2 separate regions of the Homo sapiens genome follow, and region 1 is linked to region 2. Evidence: promoter capture Hi-C in 16 types of primary human blood cells and fetal thymus (Javierre and others, 2016). All regions are on one chromosome and are shown on one strand. Each heading gives the region's core, a stretch centred on a gene start or on the middle of the fragment in contact. The rest is flanking DNA. Distances are from core to core; before and after follow the strand shown.

Region 1 (5,534 bases), core at 2,806-5,305, 420 kb after region 2:
TTACCTTTATGCAATATATCCACGTAACAAACCTGAACATGTACACCTCCCAGATCTAAAATAATAAAAATAAATAAATAAACAAATAAATAATCACTACCTCAGCACTTGTCTTAGGGATACCAAAAGAAAGAGCCACTTGGTCTGAAAGTTGGGAAACCTGGGCTCCCATAAATTTGAAAAAGAAAAAGAAAATCCTCTCCACAGACAAATTACTATTTAGCATTTCATGTCAAATCAGTAGCAAATACTGATGTGGTATGTACAGTTACTCTTACAAATGACATGGCTGGGCGTGGTGGCTCATGCCTGTAATCCCAGCACTTGTGGAGACCCATGTGGGCAGATGAACTGAGGTCAGGAGTTCAAGACCATCCTGGCCAACATGGTGAAACTCCGTCTCTACAAAAACACAAAAATTAGCTGGGCATGATGGCAGGTGCCTGTAATCCCAGCTACTTGGGAGGCTGAGGCAGGAGAATTGCTTGAACTCGGGAGGCGGAGGTTGCAGTGAGCCAAGATTGCACCATGCACTCTAGCCTGGGCAACAGAGTGAGACTCCATCTCAAAAGAAAAAAAAAAAAAAGGAATGATATTATATTTCAAAATATTTGGTTGACACATTTAATTCAGGTATATAAATGGCCAAGGTAGAAGATATCAAAATGAGGTGGATTTGATTTCTCATGTGAGACTCATAGCTAATTTAAATGAAAATTTAAATAAGATTTATTTGACATGATTGGGAACAATTCAATTCAACTTTACAAACACTGATTAAATGTCTACCATCTGGTAGGCACCGTGCTAAGTGAGTCTCCAAACCTGAACTGTGATTATAAAGGGCATTTATAAACTTTCCCTCAAAGATAGGACATTTGCCCATGTAATCATGCCATCTTTAAAAGCATCACTCTAAATTATTTAGGTGACTTCTAACTTTGCCCAGTACTCTGTCCCCAGCACCTAGGATTGCACCTGGAAGATGAGAAGCACTTATTAGGTATTTGTGGTGTAAATAGGGAATGACTGAAGCAGTACCTCTAACCCAAAACCCTAACATGAAAGAGCAGACTGTAGTATCTGAAAGCCAATTTGTAGTAGGGTTACTATCAATCCTCAGTAACAGACCAAGGAGAATATTTTAGAAAAAACTGGCCTAAAATAAATGTCAGCTAGTAATCTATTTCTTGACGATTTGGGCTTTAGCTAGTTAATTGTGGAATTTCTCTGTTCTGATTACATAATTTCAAAGGAGATAAGTTAGAAAATAGACTTTATTCACACTAAAAAATGGCAGTGTCAGAGATTTACATGGAACTCTGGAGAGGCAGAAATGTTTGCCCCCTTTTTCTATGGATGTGAAGGAGCAAGGGCCTGTTTTCCCTTTAGCATATGGTTACTAGACAAGACTATGGGTAGGGAAGTCTCAGGGGCGATGATGATGTGTTCCTCTTCTAACACAAATTTCTTGAACAAATATTAATAGCAAACATATTCCATGCAAATGGAATATTCCATGCAAATGATATGTCCATATCAGCACAAAGGTCTGATAAGCACAATTGTCACCAATTACTACAGATATGTGATCTGTTTATCACTTTTTTAGATCCTGAAAAATGGAGAGTTAAAAGGATACCCATTTATTTAATGAATAAGTTTCTCTGTAATAACTAGAATTACAACTAGAATCTCTCTGTTTTCAAGGAAGTCATATGATCTGAAGAAGTACAGCAGAGTGCACAACACATTTTGTTACTGAGGATTACAGTAAAAAGTCAAGGACAAAAGCTATTTTCCATGCCAGAATTATCAGATGCAGGAGTAAAATTCTAGCACATGAGCAAGGACTCTACATCTATTGGTTACAAATGACATCATGCTTTCTAAAGAATCATGCTCATTTTTCCTGTTTCTACCAAATTGCATAGTCTGGAGCTCCCTCTCCTGGATTAACATGATTTTATCAATTTCTTCATACTATAAACCAGAGAGGCAGAATTTATCCACAGCAACAAATCATTTAATGAATGTTTATGACTTTTCTTTCTTATTAAAGGGGACATTCTTTTATCCCAACATATAAAGTCGTTGAACTCCATCAAACAATAAGGAGAACCTCACAGATAAAAGGAAGAAGGTGTCATTAAACACATTACCTTTCGGCTGGAAAAATGGGCGTGTTTGCCCAATTTACTGTTAAGTGCTTCAAGAAACATTTCATCGGTGACTTTGCCGACATTCATGCAAGCATCATCAAGGATTGCAATGATCCCTTTGTGCTGTTGCTCCACGAGGTCAACAATGATCTGATTGTTGAAGTAGTCAATCTGTAGGACACAGCAAGGAGGGAATTCTGAAGAGAACAGTGACCAGGCCAGGTTAAACCCTGATGCTCCCATTTGTATCAGGAGTTCAGGTAAAACTACTTTGGTGTCAAATGTGTGAATAACATTAAAGAGGTCTTACGCTAAAAAGAGTACACATTCTAACAGAGGTTTATTTTTAAATTTCTTTGTTAACTTTCTATCATGAAATACACCGTCTGAGATTAGTACAGCCCAAGGCAAAGATAATAAGGTAGACACCATTTCTCCCATTACAAACTCATTTTAATCCTGCCTCCAGATCCCACACCCAACCCTACTCCTTCATACCAATCTGCCTGCCATTAACTGTAAGGTCCACCTTCCACAAAGGGCCAACAAATAACCTTAAAGTATTATCTGATATACTACTTCATAATAAAGTTAAGGTACTACACAAAACTTGCAATTTTATAAAAGTAGGGTACAAGTTAAATGTTTAGTTCTAGAAATTTTGTGCAATATGTTCATAACGATGGCTGCAGTTGCCACAAAGTGCCTCGTTTACCTTTAAATACTGTTAATGTGTCACGCATGCAGATGGAAGGGGTGGAACTGTGCACTAAAGTGGGGGCTTTAACTGTAGTGTTTGGCAGAGTTGCCTTCTACCTGCCAGTTCAAAAGTTCTGTTTTCATGCAGAATATATATACTAAAAAATTTCAGTCTTTTAAACAGCCTTACTCTGATTCAGCCTCTTCAGATACTCTTGTGCTGTGCAGTAGTGGCTCTATGTGTAAATGCCATGCACTGAGGGTACACAAAAATATCAACATTATGTGTACAGGATAATGCCTCATCCCAATCAGATGTCCATTTGTCATTGTGTTTGTTAACAACCCTTTATCTCTTAGTGTTAAATAAACTCCACTTAAAACGGAAAAAAAAAAAAAAGAACTTGCATTTTTAGTTACATGACCCTGAATGACTAAAATCCAAAAGAGCATTTCTTTTGGTTTCCCCAAAGTTAAAAAGCTTCAATAGAATTTTGAACAATTTGAAAAAATTCAGTAGAATTTTTACATTTTTCTAGGCATAATATAAAGAATTTAATTCTGAGAAATAAATATCTATAAAAGATAAGAAAAAGCTTTTCCTTTACTTCCACAAGGTGAATGAAGTTATAAATAACTTCTGGCTTTTCAGCAACTATACATGTACAAGGTTTGTCCAACAATCCTCTGCCACACCTGTTTATTCTGACAGCCTGCAATGTACCTATCACTACACACAGAAGGCACACAAAGAAAGGCCAACTCAGGCAAGCTGCACATCTCAAAGAGGGGCAGCTTATGATCACACAGTTTAATCTTGCTATGTCCCATCTTACGCAGGAGTTACCTAAACTGATTGCTGTCTCCATTACCTTCTATAAGGTCTATATACTCATAATAGACCATTCAAGTGACTCATGTATTCCCATTTCATGCTTTAAAATCCAAGGTTTTATGCCAGTTATTTGTACATGGCTTTTAGCTCCATTTCTAGTCTTGCATGTTCTCTTCTGTATCTTATGGACTGAAACCTGTAAACTGGGTAGTTTTTACTTTGTTTTTTATACTTTTCTGATCTGTCTAAACTAAAGTTTCTCAAATAGGGGAATAGGGGGAATTTTGCTCACCAGGGGACATTTGGCAATATCAGGAGACATTTCTAGTCAAAATGGGGTAGGGGTGCTACTGTCATTTGGTGGGTAGAGGCCAGGGGTGCTGCTAAACATCCTACAATGCATAGAACAGCCTCCACAACAAAGAACTATCTGGCACAAAATCTCAGTAGTACTGAGGTGAAGCAGTGTAGGTCTAAATATTTACTTTCATTATGGGCATTTATTACATTTCTAATTAGGGAGAAAAGTTATTTCCATCTTTGGAAAAAAAATCCTAAAAATACTCAAAAAGCAGGAGCTCTATATTAATAGTTGACATCTTAGACTTCGGGACTGTGAAATTAAAGACGAAGTCTTTTGTCCCAGGGACTAAAGAATTACCTTCCCTAAAATCCCAATTATATTATTAAAAGCTATTGGTCTCTGCTAGTAACTTTCAGTTTGTAAGTTTAATACTGCTTCAAACATTGCTTAAACCAGTAGTTTTCAAACTAAGTTCTTCCAGCAACTTGGCATTCCCGTAAGGTTTCCTAAGGGATACCAGGAGCCAGAAGACTTGTGATGGGGTAGCTTAGGGACATGGGGCTCTGGCCTTTCATACCCACTCCAGATAAAACAGCTTTGTGCTTGAGTATCAAGTTCTCAATAGTTAAAATGATTTGCAAACTACAGCATCGAAAGCTTTTAAAAGTGAATGTACCAGATAACCAGACATTATGAACCTCCTGGTGGAAGTTCACACACAGTCTATGAAATGGGCTGTGGAAAAAAACTGACTCTGAATCCAGTCAAGACTCTAGATCTAACAACCAATATACAGGACATACAAGAAACAGAGAAACATATTAAATGGCACCTGAGGAATGCAATTAGCAAAATCCAGACTGTGGGGAACTCCATAACAAATGACTCATTCTCTTCAACACAAGATTGCAAAGAGAGATCATTCAAGGAAAAAAAGAAACATGGAGAAAATCTATAGATATGCAAGAGACCTATCAATCAATCATAATGTAAGAAACTTATTTGGATCCAAATTTAACCTGCAAAACAACAACCAGAAGACAATTAAGGAAATATGAAACATGTATACTGACTGGATATTTTATGATATTAAGGAATTTTTGTTAATGTTTTAGGTATGATAATGGCATTGTGATTATGGTTTTTGTAAAACTCTCTTAGAGAAATACATGGAAATATTTACTGAATAGATACCCAATTGAATAGATGAAATAATGTGATATCTGAAATTTGCTTCAAAATAATCTGGGAGTAGGTGGGTATAGTACAGATGGCATAAGACTGGCAATCAACTGGTACGTGTTAAAGCCAGGTGATGGGTATATAGGGTTTACTGTACTATAGTCTGTCTTCTTAATGTGTGTTTAAAATTTTCCATAATAAAAAATCTTTTAAAAAGAATCACTATGTTTAGAAGTTTGGGGTTTTACCCAGAATAGAGATTCTAATTGTGGGGGGATCTGCCATGTAGTAAGTAACTGTTACCTTGGAGTTAGCCTTCTGCTCCCTCTAGGACAAATAGTTCTTGGTTTAT
Region 2 (5,068 bases), core at 1,581-4,080:
TCAACACTTTTCTTCTTCTAAGTACAAAACTTATTAGCCTGGGCAACATGGTAGGACCCCATTTCTAAAAAAAAAAAAAAAAAAAAATTAAAAAAATTGCTGGGCATCGTAGTGCCTGCCTGCAGTCCCAGCTACTTGGGAGGCTGAGGTGAGAGGATTGATTAAGCCCAGGAGGTCAAGGCTGCAGTGAGCTGTAATCGGGCCGCTGCACTCCAGCCTGGGCAACAAAGCAAGACCCTGTCTCAAAAAAAAATAAACTAATTAAATAAAGTGCAATTGGGTGCCAGGGTCTCTGCCATTCAATTAATTCCATTCCACAAATGTTTATGTGTGAGGCCCAGTGCTCGGGCTGCCAGAGAATAAAGACAAATTCTGCAGGTCTAGTAGGAGCTGATCTTTTGGAGTTTCTCATCACTTCTCATATTTAGTTCAGAAATAAAAACTCAGGACACAGCACATTTTGCACTTACTTTAGCTCCACAGATGCAACATTACCCAGCCCTTCAAAGACTGCACCTCTTGAAAGACGCTTAGCAATGAAACTGCGCAGCTCTGGCTCCACTTCGGATGGTAGATTAGTATCTGCCAAGGAGAGGCTTGACAAATGAAAGACACACATTCTTTACCAGTGGACTAGGGTATTCACACCCATTAAGTCAGACAGAATGGTACCAACGCCAGGGGCTCTTTTAAGGACTGGGGAAAGCTGTCCTTATGACCCCTATTGGTGAGGCTTCTAGGAATGTATGTCACTAAGTATGATCTACCTCATCAAATAGCTTAAAATATTCCTATCTTTCCAGCTCATTCTCTCCAGTACTGTGACTCCACTGGAACCCCCAATCCACTGACCCTACCTCTTTTTCAGTCTCTCAAGTTTCTCATCTCACTTCCCTCCTTATTCTGCCTTAATTCCATGGTCAGTCATTATAATCACACCCCTGCACACATTCTTATCTTTTTTATCTTTCAACTTTATTGAGGTATAATTGATGATTTAAAAATTTCAGGGCTGGGGCCGGGAGCAGTGGCTCACGCCTGTAATCTCAGCACTTTGGGAGGCCGAGGCAGGTGGACCACAAGGTCAAGAGATAGAGATCATCCTGGCTAACACAGTGAAACCCCGTCTCTACTAAAAAAAAATACAAAAAAATTAGCCGGGCGTGGTGGTGGGTGCCTGTAGTCCTAGCTACTCGGGAGGCTGAGGCAGGAGAATGGCGTGAACCCGGGAGGCAGAGCTTGCAGTGAGCTGAGATCGCACCACTGCACTCCAGACTGGGCAACAGAGGGAGACTCTGTCTCAAAAAAAAAAAAAAATTTTTCAGGGCTGGGCAAGGTGGCTCATGCCTGTAATCCCAACACTTTGCGAGGCAGAAGTGGGCGGATCACTTGAGTCCAGGAGTTCAAGACCAGCCTGGGCAACATGGTGAAACCCCATCTCTACCAGAAATACAAAAATTAGCCAGGCGTGGTGGTCAGTAGTCCCAGCTACTGGGGAGGCTGAGGTGAGAGGATCACCTGAGGCCGGGGAGGTTGACGCTGCAGCGAGCCAAAGTCATGCCACTGCACTCCAGCCTGGGCAGCAGAGCAAGACCCTGTCTCAATTTAAAAGGAAAAAGAAAAAAAAAGGATTTCTTTTTGGCTAATCACCAAGCACACTATCAGTATGTGGATTTGTTTGCCCCAGCCTTGAATGAACCAGCCAATGAGGAAATCAGGATGAGGTTCCTAGGGGATAGGAGGAATTGACGGTTTGACTCAGGGAAAGCTCAGTGGAAATAGAGTATCCACTGACATGTACAGGCCAGAGATGCAGGGAAGATGAAAGCACATGCATGAATTATGCTGAAGCTCTTTTTACCTGAAATCATCACCAGAGGGAGTTTCTGCATTTGTGCCACTTGGGCTTCCGTCCTCACTGTCCCCTCGTTGCTGTGCCAATCTACAAGCCACAAAACCAATAGTGCTATCAATTATGGGCTCTAAACCAAGAGGAGTATGGGGGCCTGGCAAGCAGGGTAAGGCAAGGAGTCAACTAAAAATGCTGCAAGGTGGAAGTGCACTGCCTATCCTCATGACAAGGAAAACCCATACAGCAGTGCTGACAAGAGCCCCTTCTCTCTCCAGGCCACTTAACGGGTGGAGGAAAGGCTAAATACCCAGAAGGTTCAAGGAAACTCCTTTAAAAACCAAACTTGACAAGGCCAAGAAGGTTCCAGGAAAGTCAGAAGGAGGAAAAAGAGGAATCAAGAACAGAGGAAAACCAGAGGGTGGGGATGGGGGTGTGTGTGACAGAAATGGGAGAAGTGGGGAGATAATGACAGAAAGGAGAGGGGACGGGAACTGAAATTATTGAGCATGCGGGGCACTGCGCTAAACAAAGGGCAGCCGCGAGAGTAAGAGGCTGGGATGATATAGGGGCAGATGAAGGGCACAGGCATGGTTGGGCCAGGCATACAAGTCCACGACGGGGGCCAGGAAGAGCAGCGGGAGGCGAGGAGCGCCCTTCAGGCCAGAGACCTTGGCTGGGAGAGGAGAAGATGGCTTTTAGGAGCGGCCGGGCCGCTGGGCCGGGGGTGGGGTGCAAGGCCGGGCGGCGGGCCGGGGGCGGGGCCGCAGGGGCGGGCGGGCTGGCAGGCCGAGCTGGGCGCCAGCACCTGCTTCCGCGATAGCTGTAAAGACAGTAGTGGCTGCTGGACGGCGGCTCGAGTCTCCGCTCCTCGGCTGAGCCTCCCTCTTCGCTGCTCTCTAGTTCCTTTTCATCTCCATCCATCGACTCCTGCAAAGAGGGGAGCATTGCGGCGGCCTCTGAGCGGCCCTGTGTCTCCGCCAAACCGCTCCCCTGCTCCCGTGCAGCCGTCGGTATCAGGGCTCGTCCGGCTCCCGGCCCTCGCACACCTGCGTTCCGCTGGTTTCCCCGGGTTCGCAGGCAAGGACTGGCCTGGAAAGGGAGTCTCTTCTCCCCACAGGGGCTGACAGGCGTACTGAGTTCGCCTTTACTGACAAGCTTTTACCATTTATTTTGAACTTATTTTCCTTTGAGACATCTGGGAAACTTTCTATGTGATAAAGGTGGCACAACTACCTAGCCACATGGAAAAGAATAAGGCTACTCGTCTGCCTCCTTGCGCGCGTGCCAGCACGCACAGACACCCGTTTGATCAAAAAGTTAAGAATTTAAAATGAATTTTGTTAAAGTGAAAATATGGGATAATTTTGTTAATTCTTGAAGAGGGTCTTTCCAAACATAACAAAACACTTAGAAGTCATACAGGAAAACGTTTAAAAAAATGACTACGTAAAAACTAAAAGGCCGGGCACGGTGGCTCACGCCTGTAATTCCAGTGCTTTGGGAGACCGACGCAGGCGGATCACTTGAGGTCAGAAGTTCAAGACCAGCCTGGGCAACATGGTGAAACTGTGTCTCTACTAAAAGTACAAAAAAATTAGCCACGTGTGGTGGTTCACGCCTGTAATGCCAGCTACCCTTCCAGTCTCTGCCCATTACCCAGTTCTAACACCAATTCACATTTTCAGGTGTTTGTTTCTGCAACACCCCATTCTCTGGTACCAGTTTTCTGTCTCAGTCCATTTTATGATGCTATAAAAGGATACCAAAGACTGGGCAATTTATAATTAGCTCTTAAAGGCCCCACTTCTTAATAGTCTTACAATGGCAATTACATTTCAACATGAATTTGGGAGTGGACAAACACTCAAACCATAGCGCCACGTGAAGGAGGAGGCAGACTGGAGTGATGTATCTACAAACCAAGGAATGTCAAGGATTGATGGTCATCACCAGAAGCTAGGAGAGGACATGGAACAGATTCTCCCCTAGAGGCTTCAAGAGAGTATGTCCCCACCAGCACCTCCATGTCAACTTCCAGCCTCCAGAACTGTGAAATAATACATTTCCATTGTTTTAAGCCACCGTGTGTGTGTGCATGCGTGTGTTTTGTGTTTTTTTTTTTTATTTTTAGTAGTGCAAACTTTATTCATAAATAAAACTTCATAAAGTTAAAAGCAGGGGCAGTTCCTATTTTTAAAAAGGAATAGTGGAAGGCAACCTGCCATTTCATTTAAAATTACAAGTTAGGTTTTTCAGATGGATAACAGTTGAGATCGTTAAATCCCCTTCCTGCTTCTCAGATTTTCACAAAATAGCACATTAAATCCTCAGTCCTAAGCAATTATGGCAGAGATTCCAAATTGCCTCTCCATATCAAAGTGGATAGCACAGTTTCTTCTCTTGCAATAAAGGTACTCATTTGATGAACAAGTGAGTATAGCAGTCAGATTCTTAAAAGATTGTATTGCAGAAGTTACTGCCATGTCTTCATTCGCAATGGGTATCCTCACCTCTATCTCCCATTCAGTAACATTGTCAGTTTCCTTATCTCTCATTTCAACTACATTTAAAAGAGGATTCTGATTGCGGACAACACATGACAGAGGCATTTCAGATCGGCAGTAGTCTCTTGAGATATACTTGATTTTAGTTTTAAGCAGAAGAACTTCCTGGAGAGGTTGAGTTACCACAGTCATGAGGATGGTAGAAAAACTCATAGTAGATATTTGGCAAAACTAGGTTACAAGGCAGCCATCTCCTAGAAACACTTCATCGGGGTTCATATACAAATTGTGAAATATCGTGGGTTTAATCCTGGCACAGAACCAAAACTGGGTGCATTGTACTTGAATAGCCGACCAGTCCCCAGCACAGGTCCATATCAAGGAATTGAGAAAAAAGAGCCCATTTAACCGCAAAATGGTCTTCATTTGCCCAGACTGAAAGCCAAATCTCACTCAGGAAACAGCTGTATTTTTATTTTTTATAGAGACAGTGTATCACTTTGTTGCTCAGGCTGGTCTTGAACTCCTGGGCTCAAGTGATCCTTCTGCCCCATCCTCCCGAAGTGCTGACATTACAGGTGTGAGCCACCATGCCCAGGTGGTACGTGTTATAGCAGCCATAAGAAACTAATACAGTGGCTGGGTGTGGTGGCTCACGCCTGTAATCCCAGCACTTTGGGAGGCCGAGGCAGGCGGATCACAAGGTCAGGAG

The links. Contacts are between HindIII fragments. The CHiCAGO score rates a contact against its expected background, and 5 or more counts as called.
Region 1: a fragment that was not itself captured here is called in contact with the fragment with the promoter of C17orf75 in region 2 in 1 of 17 cell types (naive CD8 T cells); the score reaches 5.2 in naive CD8 T cells.

Annotation. Positions count from the first base shown.
Region 1 is chr17:32,753,330-32,758,863 of GRCh38, forward strand. It overlaps MYO1D (myosin ID), which reads right to left. Exons shown (of 22, transcript NM_015194.3): 11 at 2,163-2,333. Among named protein-coding and RNA genes, the nearest start is that of MYO1D-DT, 120 kb to the right of the region's middle. The HindIII fragment of the contact is 1,200 bases long and covers 3,456-4,655 here.
Region 2 is chr17:32,339,343-32,344,410 of GRCh38, forward strand. C17orf75 (chromosome 17 open reading frame 75) reads right to left here and starts at 2,831. Exons shown (of 10, transcript NM_022344.4): 1 at 2,658-2,831; 2 at 1,862-1,942; 3 at 471-596. The coding sequence starts at 2,797. It also overlaps the pseudogene OOSP1P2. RefSeq lists silencers at 1,861-2,043, 2,538-2,617 and an enhancer at 2,512-3,398. The HindIII fragment of the contact is 3,672 bases long and covers 1-3,005 here.